Regions from separate parts of the Homo sapiens genome. Here regions 2 and 3 are each linked to region 1. The links are contacts of gene promoters, found by promoter capture Hi-C in human tissues and cell types (Jung and others, 2019). All regions are on one chromosome and are shown on one strand. Each heading gives the region's core, a stretch centred on a gene start or on the middle of the fragment in contact. The rest is flanking DNA. Distances are from core to core; before and after follow the strand shown.

Region 1 (4,087 bases), core at 972-3,471:
GCCTGTAATCCCAGCACTTTGGAAGGCCGAGGAAGGAGGATCACGAGGCCAGGAGATCAAGACCATCCTGGCTAACACGGTGAAACCCTGTCTCTGCTAAAAATACAAAAAAATTAGCCGGGCGTGGTGGCGGGCTCCTGTAGTCCCAGCTACTCCAGAGGCTGAGGCAGGAGAATGGTGTGAACCTGGGAGGCGGAGCTTGCGGTGAGCCGAGATCGCGCCACTGCACTCCAGCCTCGGCGACAGAGCGAGACTCCGTCTCAAACAAAAAAACAAAACAACAACAACAACAAAAAACTAATACCAACTTTTTTCCAAAATAAATGTCTCACTCTCTGAAATAATTAACTTTTATACCTTTTTGTGCTCTTAAACAGCAGTTTTCAATCAGTATGGTTACTTGCATGCAAGACTGAAGGAAAGGATATAGTTTTAAAGCCAACAGACCTGTTGAATGAAAAAAAATTCCGTCTTACTTTAAGAAATTATTCATTGCTGAGCCCTGGACATTTTTATCTGGTTTAATACACTGCATAGATGTTTCTCTTTCTGTCCACATGCTTGTCTTTCCAGTCCTTTTAAAAAAATATTATATTTCAGTCCCTCTTGTGAGAGTTGAAAAACTGTCTTTGCCTACATGAACATAAAGTCCTGCTAAGGAAGATTGTGTTACTAAAAACAAAAGGGGCCAGACGTGGGGGCTCACATCTGTCATCCCAGCACTTTGGGAGGCCAAGGTGGGAAGACTGCACAAGCTCAGGAGTTTGAGACCAGCCTGGGCAACATAGCGAGACTCCGTCTATATAAAACAAAAACAAAAACAATTAGCTAGGCATGGTGGCTCATGCTTGTATTCCCAGCTGCTTGGGAGACTGAGGCAGGAGGACTGATTGAGCACAGGAGGTCAAGGCTGCAGTGAGCCATCATCACACCACTGCACTCCAGCCTGGGGACACAGCAAGACCTTATCTCAAAAAACAAAACAAAACAACAACCACAAACCAAACGGTAAGGGTAGGCGGGATGGGGATAAGAAGTGAGCTACCGATAGCTTTCATTTATTCTGTCCTTAGAATTCTGTCCTTAGATGATCTTTTCAAACAAAGTATTTCAAAATATGTATTCCAACAATAATTTCTTTCTTTCTTTCTTTCTTTTTTTTGAGACGGAGTCTCGCTCGTCACCCAGGCTGGAGTGCAGTGGCTCGATCTCCGCTCACTGCAAGCTCCGCCTCCCGGGTTCACAGGATTCTTCTGCCTCAGCCTCCCGAGTAGCTGGGACTACAGGCGCCCGCCACTACGCCCGGCTAATTTTTTGTATTTTTAGTAGAGACGGGGTTTCACCATGTTAGCCAGGATGGTCTCGATCTCCTGACCTCGTGATCTGCCCGCCTCGGCCTCCCAAAGTGCTGGGATTACAGGCGTGAGCCACCTCGCCCGGCCTCCAATAATAATTTCTAAAATCCAATGTGTATACAGGTTTTAAAAACATTTTTTAATGATTGGACCAAAATTTTGACTCCCTTTTTGTATTTTAATATGAGTTATCTATACAATAGTTCAAAGTTGGGACTAGAAAGTAATTAGTCTTTGACTATCTGGACTTTGGTCTTTCTCGTATCTGGGCTTCAATTTTCTCATTTGGAAAATGAAGATTGGATGAGTTGATTTTCTAAGGTCTATTTCTAATGGAGTTGAATGAAAAAGAAAAAGGCAACTTAGGATCTTTGATAACTGGAATAAAAGGAGGCACACGCTTTGAATTACACAGAGATGGATTTGAATCTCATATTTTATTAGCTGCTGGAAGTTAGATTTTATTTTACTTAGCTATAAAGTGGAACTAATTAGGAGCTGTACTGAGGGCTGCTGGGGTTTAAGTGGGAACAATCCTATAATGTTCCCAGGATAATATGTATGCACCTATAAATGGTAGGACCATATTAAGGTCAGACAAACGTAAGGCTGAGCACATGACTTGATCTAGTAATTTCCACTCTGGCACTTGGAGAAGAGAGTGAGCATATCACTGTTCCTTACCAGCAGAGATGTCCCTCTGCCGTGATGAAACTGGAGCTGTCATGATTTATAAAAAGAACACCATCAGGGCAAAGGCGCCACATCTTGGCAAGAAATGCTTCACATAGTTTCCATCGTCACTAAGCTCTCCTTCCCACCCCGCACCCTGCTTCTATTTAAATCCCAGGCACTCCACTGGACCACACTCATTTTAGCCAGTGTCCAGGCTATCAGCAGAGAAAGACAGGTGGGCAGCATGGCTCCGGGCGAAAAGGAAAGCGGGGAGGGCCCAGCCAAGAGCGCCCTCCGGAAGATACGCACAGCCACCCTGGTCATCAGCTTGGCCCGAGGTTGGCAGCAGTGGGCGAATGAGAACAGCATCAGGCAGGCCCAGGAGCCTACAGGCTGGCTGCCGGGAGGGACCCAGGACTCACCTCAAGCTCCTAAACCAATCACACCCCCTACTTCACACCAGAAAGCTCAGAGTGCCCCAAAGTCGCCACCCCGCCTGCCAGAAGGACATGGAGATGGACAAAGCTCAGAGAAAGCCCCTGAGGTTTCTCACATCAAAAAGAAAGAGGTGTCCAAAACGGTGGTCAGCAAGACTTATGAGAGAGGAGGGGACGTGAGCCACCTCAGCCACAGGTACGAGAGGGATGCTGGTGTGCTTGAACCTGGGCAGCCAGAGAATGACATTGACAGAATCCTCCACAGCCACGGCTCCCCAACGCGGAGGAGAAAATGTGCCAACCTGGTGTCTGAGCTAACCAAGGGCTGGAGAGTGATGGAGCAGGAGGAGCCCACATGGAGGAGTGACAGCGTAGACACAGAGGACAGCGGCTATGGAGGAGAGGCTGAGGAGAGGCCCGAGCAGGATGGAGTGCAGGTGGCTGTGGTCAGGATCAAGCGCCCCTTGCCCTCCCAGTAAGTGAATGCATTCTCCCACTCCTTGTGTCAGGATCACTATTGAGCCCCAACCAAGTCTGGGAATCCAGGCAGCAGATGAAGTCCTGCCAGGGTTAGAGTGAGAATCTCAAAGACTGGACAGGCAGTGAGTACTGTAGAGGAGGGATGTCCCTGGGCTGAAGGTCAGTGCCAACCTTAGACATGGACCTTTTGGTCAGGGCCTGCGCTATTTTGTTTCTCGTTTTTGTTTTGAACTGAACACTCAAGTCTTAGCCTCAACAAAGATGAAGCCATCAGAGAGGGAAGCCTGTTTTTCGTGAATTCTTTAAGTCAGTTCTATAATGAGTAACAAATTGGCTTATTTCTTTAGAGATAAGAGTGGTTTCTGATAGACTCATTGGGGAAACTTTTACCTTGTCCCAAATGTCTATGCTATTATCAGGAGATACGTCTGCTTCAATAACACCCATGGAATACAAATCTCTGACTCTAAACAGGTGGAGGCTGCTGTCTAATTTGAAAGCAGGCTCTGAATGAAGTCAGACAGACCCAAGTTCAAATCCTAGTTCTGCCCCTAACTAGTCATTTTTAAAGGTGATTTCATCAGCTGGGCGCAGTGGCTCAGCCTGTAATCTCAGCACTTTGGGAGGCTGAGGAGGGCGGATCACTTGAGGCCAGGAGTTTGAGACCAGCCTGACCAACATTGGTGAAACCCCATATCTACCAAAAAACACACAAAAATAGCTAGGCACAGTGTTGTGCATCTGTAATCCCAGCTACCCGGGAGGCTGAGGCATGAGAATGGCTTTAACCCATGAGGCTGATGTCGGAGTGAGCCAAGATCATGCCACTGTACTCCAGCCTGGGCAACACAGCAAGACTCTGTTTCACATAAAAATTAAAAAAAGCAGATTTCCTCATTTGTAAAATGACAGCAACAGTAAGCTTTTGGGAGAAGTTCTATTGTATTGGGAAACGTAAATGAGATTAGGGCTACCAAACACAGAGCTTGTCACATATGCTCAATACACGAAAACTATTATTATTCACATAGATTTGGTTACTTTGCAACTTTTCAAATTTTCAAAAACAGTTTGTCCTATTTGTAAACAAATACAGCAATAATTAAAATATCTAGATGGTAAATACACATACATACACTC
Region 2 (3,896 bases), core at 330-2,829, 1.1 Mb before region 1:
AGCATATCTAATTTAGTAAATTATTATTATTCTGTCAAAATTAATGTGAACAATTTTCTCTTTGAGGCTTTTTCCATAGGTGATGTTTTCCAGATGGGCTTTGTGCAAAACTCCCAATATTTTTGTGTTTTCTTTCCTAGAGAAAGAGCCATTTCTGACATCTCTTCTTTTCTTTCCTTCATTGCAGGGAAGAGAACACCAAAGGCGAAGGAGAAGAGGAACAAGAAAAAGAAAAGGAAGCTGATAGAAAGGGCCCAGGAGCAACACAGCGTCTTCCTAGCTACAGACAGAGCTAACCAATAAAACAAGAGATCCGGTAGATTTTTAGGGGTTTTTGTTTTTGCAAATGTGCACAAAGCTACTCTCCACTCCTGCACACTGGTGTGCAGCCTTTGTGCTGCTCTGCCCAGTATCTGTTCCCAGTAACATGGTGAAAGGAAGCACCACCAGCATGGCCCCTGTGTTATTTATGCTTTGATTTGAATCTGGAGACTGTGAAGGCAGGAGTAAGTGCACAGCCCGTGACTTGGCTCAGTGTGTGCTGAGAGAATCCGTCCCCGGCACCATGGACATGCTAGAGGTGTGAGGCTGCAGAACACCGCTGGAGGACGGACTTGTGCCTATTTATGTGAAAGAAGATGCTTGGCAGGCAATGCGCTACTCACTCGTGACCTTTATTTCTCACATTGTGCATTTTCAAGGATATGTTTGTGTGGATATCTGCTTAGTGTTACCACATGGTATTCTCAGCATGTTACCTTCACACTGTTGTGCGATGAAACTGCTTTTAGCTGAGGATATGCTCTGGAAATTCCTGCTCAGTTTCACTGCAGCCCTAATATGTACATATACTGCAGGAGCTACATATAAAGCTCTTATTTACTGTATATTTATGCTTTCTTGTGGGTAACAAGTCATACCTGATTAATATGATGCCACTTTGTTTCTAGTGGTTCCTAACCCATTGTCTGATAAATGACTTTTCTAGTTTGGGGAATTGACACTTGTTTTGTTGCCTCTTGAAACTTTTTTTTTTTCCCCTCATTGTGGGCTTATTTCTCATTGTAAGGGTAGGATAAACTAGTTTTTGTATATAGAGTCAAATGACCAGTGTCAAAGAGTTTGCATATTGGGTAGACCTTCTCCACTCCACATGTCCCACACATATAGATAAAGCAGCAGGCGGCATCTGGCAATCAGAAGCCCAAACTGCCTTTGAGTCTAAGATGTGATGACTTTGATGAAACACAACTGAAAACATGAGGGACTATATCCAGTCACTTGTAGCCAGTTTCACAGGCCAGCTACAGAATTGTCCAAACAAACATTATTTCTGACTGCAATTTTTTTCCCCCAAATTTAAAGCAATCCCTGGCTTTAAATGACAAGGCACCTACCAATGTTCTTGGGTCACTGAAGAAGCTACTACCATGAGCCTGGGCATAGAATTTTAGGAGATAAAAGGATGAATTTCTGTGACTGCCAGTCAGATCTTAACAGGTTTCTGTTGAGCCAGAATCTGTTTCAGATCCAAGATGGAGAGGAACACTATGGAAACTTCCCAGGTGACTTTCAGAGCAGTTGTTTCAAACACATCATTGTCCTTTTAGGGGAACCAGTTTTTAGAAGGTTGTGAATTGGCTTTTTCACAAAGCATGATTATCTTCCTGGCTGATCCAGGAGAAAATTAGAACAGAAAAATAATGGTTGTGGATTTTGAAACAAAGCAAGGTAAAGCCTTTTTTTTTTCACCTTGCATTGGCAAAACTACCTCTTCAGTGTTTTTAACTTTTGATTCAAAAGCATCTTACCAATAAGGATAAATATCATATACATCGTTATGAAAATATTGCTATGAGATAATAAGCCACATATGAATGTTGTATACAACTTTAGGGTTTACATTTAATCCTGAAGTGTTACCTCCTTTCATGTCTATTTACACTATTTTCCCATTTACTAAGTGGGGAGGGGGTCTCCTTATATAGTGCTTCATCGTTAATAAGTCAATACCTGTTGTTCCTGGGATGTTCTTTTTTGTGCATTAAAAACTTCAAAATTATTTTTTGTGGAGATTTCTTTTTTACTTTAGAGATACATTTAGAAATAACTCAGTACTTTGTTCTACCCCCAAAATAACAGCCCTTTAAAAAAGACAGGCAAATCTTTAAAAACCTATATTGGTAACTACATCTAGAACACTAACTAACTAGTTTATAGATAAACTAGATAACTGTAAACTAGAGTCCAAGTGCCCGAGTTCTAATCCAGACTGAGAGTGGCCTGTGAAAATTACTTAATCCCTCCACTCTCAGTTTCCTTATCTGTGAAATGGGGATCACATTATCATCTGCCTCTAGGGGCTGTGTTTTAAGGACCAAATGAAAATATATACAGGGAAATATATACAGGGTTGTACTTTAAGGATATAATTAGGTAAAATGTGTAAAGTATGGTCACCACGGCATTCTATATACTAAGTACTATACAAGTTGGTCACCTATTACATCTTTCAATGGCTATTTAGATTCTTTTAAAAAATATTGATTTCTCCTTATTAACAAAATAGAACATTTATGAAAAGTATCAATCTAATCTATTGCTTGGTGCCTGGGCATTATTTGCTAAAACATTTACATCTGCTTGATTTCTGACTCTCCCTGATATAAGCAGCATACACACACAGATACACACAAAACTGAATTCTTTCCTCTATCAATCAGTACGGGTGCAATCAAGGAAATAAACTAGTCGGGGTGTTTCAAATGGGGAATTTAACACCAGAAATTGGTTATACAGGTGATAAAGGAGACACGAAGCCAAAATATGTTGCCAAGATGACCCAGAGATTAGCAACAGCAGGAGGCACTATTTTACCCCTAATGCAAGAGGAATTACAAGAAGAGGTGGAGTTTCCAAAATCTAGAAGCCACAGGTGCCCAGCTAGACTTAGAACCATAGCTGAGGCTAGAGCTATAACCACAGAAGGAGCTGGAACTGAGGACAGAAAGCTTGTTTGGTAGGAGCTGAAATATTGTAGATGATCTTGTTGCTGTGAGAAATGCTGCTTGAGGCAAATTCATAGAGGAGGAAATAGCCTGGCTTCTCCCTATCTCCCAACCTCCAGTCTTCCACCAGTGCCCGCTATTGCCCAAAGCTGCCCAGAAGCCAGTAGGCAAGGGAGTCTGGGTAACACAGTTTTCTGTGGTTCAGAAGAGCCTGAGGGAAGGGCAGCGGGTAGATCTAAGAGCAACCAAATGATCGGCATAATCACTGATAACTGCCTTCAACTGTTCCCCTTCCTGCTTTTCCTATTGGACAGTTAATTATTTACCTAGTTGATTAAAGGCTCTTGTATTCGTCATTTACTTCCTTTGTTCCCTACATCTAGTCAGTTACTAATGAGTTTACCTTGGAAATATCTCTTGATTTTCTCCGTACCCCTTTACTTTCTTTGCCCAAGGCTGGTCCTCTTTGTCTCTTTTTCTGGACTGTTCCACTCTTCCTAGACATCATTCTTGCCCCCACCTTCACTCACTCCAATTATTCCTTTGTATTTCTATCACTTATTTTTCTATTAACAATTTTTTACTGCTTTTTAAAAAAATACTTTCCCATTCCCTATAGAATAAAATTTTGCAATTCTTCAGTGCCCTTTTAATGTCATCTTCACCCATGTATCTTACAGAGATCAACAAAAGACTGAATGGGGTGGAAGACTGTGGTAAAATCTTCAAGGGTTCCTTGATGGTAAACTTGGACATGCTCACTGTATTAGTTGATACCCCTTGAATCACAAAGACAGAAATGCAAGGGCAGACATGGCTTTAAAAGTAGATGATATTAGCATGTGTTGGTTTCTGATAAAAATGTAGGTGATAAACATTAAATCTTGA
Region 3 (4,105 bases), core at 1,174-3,673, 1.2 Mb before region 1:
TCTACTTTATTGCTAACCCTTTCAGCTCTTATATAACCAAGGAAATACAACACATTGTTAAAGAGTGAAATCTTTGGGGTTCGTAAGCTTCTTTACTTAGTACCTCTGTGAACTTTGCGATTAAGTGACTTCACCAATCCTTTACAAACCCAAAAGTTTCCTCATTTGTAAAATAATACCTATGTCAAAACTTGTAATGAATACCAAGTAAGTCAATACATGTGAAATGCTTGATGTTGTACATGGGCGCATATTAATGGTAATTAGCAATGATGTTGATAATGTCAGTCCACTAAGGAATATAGATAAAATGATCTTAATGGTACTGATCTAGAGAAGTGGTTCTTAAACCAAGGAGAACATCAGAATCACCTGAAAATCTTAAACTAAGTAGGCAAATAGATGCATAGATTTTTTTCTATGAATACTAGAACTGAATTGGGGTGAGGTAATCCAGTCTGGCAGACATTGTGCCTTATACTGTTACTTCTTTAAAAATTAGAGTTAATAAATACAGACGGAATTGCTTTGCATTTTTCTTCATGGTAGAAAACCTATTTGGATAGGTGGAAGAAATAGAAGAAAAGCAGTTACTGAAAAACTAAAATCTCTAACTGTTCTAAGTTTCCTATAATATATACTAGATAGTTCTAAGGTGAGAGACAGACACTGACACTGTGTTTTAAAGTATCCTTCAGCAATTTTGAAGTCTTAATTGAATGTTTTCTTCCTCAGCAGAAACTGAACCCATTTATCTGTATAAGCTCTCCAAGCTTGTAGTTATTGAAAAAGTTCTCTGTCCTCCCTCTCTCTCTCTTCTTAGCCAAGAGCAGTGTGCATATTATTTGCTTGCTTGGGTGCTGTTATGCGAGTTCGTGTATTTAAAGCTTGTGAGAGAGCCAAGCCACAGGATCTGGCTGGCTTTCAGCTGCTAAACAGGGGGCATGTAACTTGCCATTGGTCCCCAACTGCGAGAATTGTGGATGTAATTTCTTTTTGGTAAACATCCATCCTGAAGTGAATTTATCTCCTCTACACATTTGTTTTCCTTTGGGTGTTTTCCTTTTGTTGTATGATCCTCACTTCGTTGGACATGAGTACTTCTGTAGTGTTACTTATCCTCTCAAAACAATGAAAAATTACTTTTGCAAAGCTGTTTAAGTCAGAGGATGTAAAATGGATCCCATCCAAAGCAGCCATTACCATCCATCAGAGGTAGGAAGAGAGACGTCTACTACCAGTCAGACAACTCACAGTCCATGGTGTGACTGAGCTGTGGCAGCAGCCGTGGCATTGGCCTTGCAACAGTGTCAGGGCATGCGGTCCAGCCTTTCTTGTGATTTGGCTCTGAGTTAGATTGATTTATATGGTTGGTTTAAGGAAGGCTAAGAAAATCTATTCTTGATCTTCTGGTCTCATTGACATTCTCTGTCACTGTCATTGTTATTATCACCACCAACTACCATCACCACCACCACTAACATGTACTGATGCTCACAATACGCCATGAACCGGACTAAACTTTTACTTAATTTCCTTATTTAATCATAACGCCAACTTTATCTCATAGGAACTACTATTTCTCACACTTCACAGATGAGAAACTGAAGCCCTAGAGAAGATACCCGCTATGAAGCTTTGGATAAGTTACAGTGGCAGAGCTGAGGCTGAAACCAAGGCTCAGTCTCCAAAGAGCATGTTCTAAACTTGTCTGTTATATTGCTCTCCTGAATTAAGATGATTGTTGGAAAGCATCCACTTTAGGAACTCACCACTTTTAAACATTCCATACATCAAAATTTGGAATGGCATTTCTCCTAGTTCTGTTACTTTTATGTAATCTAAGTGCCTTTACTAAAGGGAATCAAAAGGTTAGGCTTAGAAGCACAGTGTTGGAGAAGTCTTTACAGTGTAATCTGGAATACTTTGGCAAGATTAAATTTTTAGTCTTTTGTTTAAAATAAAAATGACATTTCAAAAGAAGAATAGGCAGTATGTGTTTATATAAAAAGCTAATTATTCAAACTTTGTCAGCTAAGCAGTACATCTGTTAACTATGTATTTTTTAAAAGGGTAAAGGATGATCTAATAAGGTTTAAGGAATGTAGAGATTATATGGAACCTGGTGGCTATTTTTCTCTCTCAGAAACTACTGAAGTAACGACAGAAGGGGGTTCAGAGTTCAAATAATCAAGAGATCCTTAGCACTTAAGGTTATTAAGAATACTTAAGTATTCTCATGGGTCTCTAAAATACTTTTTCCAGGATAAATGCAGGTATACATATTTTAAGGCATATATATAGAGCAGATGAGCCCTCTAGGTCTTTACCTGCACAGTGATTTTTTTGGTCTATATTTAATATTTCTGATTAGTTAGGAATTTTAGAATTTGCTAGTTACCATTGGTGTAAACAAAACAGAATTGGACATGTGAGTTGCTCTCCATTATATAAACCTTAGTTGCACATCTGTAATACAGAGTATTTGAACATAGGATTAATGATCACTGGCCTCTGATGAACATCGATACAAAAATCCTCAATAAAATACTGGAAAACCGAATCCAGCAGTACATCAAAAAGCTTATCCACCATGATCAAGTGGGATTCATCCCTGGGATGCAAGGCTGGTTCAACATATGCAAACCAATAAATGTAATCCAGCATATAAACGGAACCAAAGACAAAAACCACATGATTATCTCAATAGATGCAGAAAAGGCCTTTGACAAAATTCAGTAGCCCTTCATGCTAAAAACTCTCAATAAATTAGGTATTGATGGGACGTATCTCAAAATAATAAGAGCTATTTATGACAAACCCACAGCCAATATCATACTGAATGGGCAAAAACTGGAAGCATTCCCTTTGAAAACTGGCACAAGACAGGGATGCCCTCTCTCACCACTCCTATCCAACATAGTGTTGGAAGTTCTGGCCAGGGCAATCAGGCAGGAGAAAGAAATAAAGGGTATTCAATTAGGAAAAGAGGAAGTCAAATTGTCCCTGTTTGCAGATGACATGATTGTATATCTAGAAAACCCCATCTTCTCAGCCCAAAATCTCCTGAAGCTGATAAGCAACTTCAGCAAAGTCTCAGGATACAAAATCAATGTACAAAAATCACAAGCATTCTTATACACCAATAACAGACAAACACAGAGCAAAATCATGAGTGAACTCCCATTCACAATTGCTTCAAAGAGAATAAAATACCTAGGAATCCAACTTACAAGGGATGTGAAGGACCTCTTCAAGGAGAACTATAAACCACTGCTCAATGAAATAAAAGAGGACACAAACAAATGGAAGAACATTCCATGCTCATGGATAGGAAGAATCAATATCGTGAAAATGGCCATACTGCCCAAGGTAATTTATAGATTCAATGCCATCCCCATCAAGCTACCAATGACTTTCTTCACAGAATTGGAAAAAACTACTTTAAAGTTCATATGGAACCAAAAAAGAGCTCGCATTGCTAAGTCAATCCTAAGCCAAAAGAACAAAGCTGGAGGCATCATGCTACCTGACTTCAAACTATACTACAAGGCTACAGTAACCAAAACAGCATGGTACTGGTACCAAAATAGAGATATTGACCAATGGAACAGAACAGAGCCCTCAGAACTAATACCACGTATCTACAACTAACTGATCTTTGACAAACCTGAGAAAAACAAGCAATGGGGAAAGGATTCCCTATTTAATAAATGGTGATGGGAAAACTGGCTAGCCATATATAGAAAGCTGAAACTGGATCCCTTCTTACACCTTATATAAAAGTTAAGATGGATTAAAGACTTAAACGTTAGACCTAAAACCATAAAAACCCTAGAAGAAAACCTAGGCAATACTATTCTGGACATAGGCATGGGCAAGGACTTCATGTCTAAAACACCGAAAGCAATGGCAACAAAAGCCAAAATTGACAAATGGGATCTAATTAAACTAAAGAGCTTCTGCACAGCAAAAGAAACTACCATCAGAGTGAACAGGCAACCTACAGAATAGGAGAAAATTTTTGCAATCTACTCATATGACAAAGGGCTAATATCCAGAATCTACAAAGAACTCAAACAAATTTACAAGAAAAAAACAACCC

What was found. Contacts are between HindIII fragments. The study calls those that stand out against the background at their distance.
Region 2: a fragment that was not itself captured here is called in contact with the fragment with the promoter of ABRA in region 1 in 1 of the 25 tissues and cell types used here (mesenchymal stem cells).
Region 3: a fragment that was not itself captured here is called in contact with the fragment with the promoter of ABRA in region 1 in 1 of the 25 tissues and cell types used here (dorsolateral prefrontal cortex).

What each region holds. Positions count from the first base shown.
Region 1 is chr8:106,768,378-106,772,464 of GRCh38, reverse strand. ABRA (actin binding Rho activating protein) reads left to right here and starts at 2,221. Exons shown (of 2, transcript NM_139166.5): 1 at 2,221-2,942. The coding sequence starts at 2,275. The HindIII fragment of the contact is 12,258 bases long and covers 1-4,087 here.
Region 2 is chr8:107,897,482-107,901,377 of GRCh38, reverse strand. RSPO2 (R-spondin 2) reads left to right here. Exons shown (of 6, transcript NM_178565.5): 6 at 188-2,062. The coding sequence ends at 303. Among named protein-coding and RNA genes, the nearest start is that of RSPO2, 180 kb to the left of the region's middle. The HindIII fragment of the contact is 7,092 bases long and covers 1-3,896 here.
Region 3 is chr8:107,926,247-107,930,351 of GRCh38, reverse strand. The region is part of intron 5 of RSPO2 (R-spondin 2); the gene reads left to right. Among named protein-coding and RNA genes, the nearest start is that of RSPO2, 160 kb to the left of the region's middle. The HindIII fragment of the contact is 3,185 bases long and covers 831-4,015 here.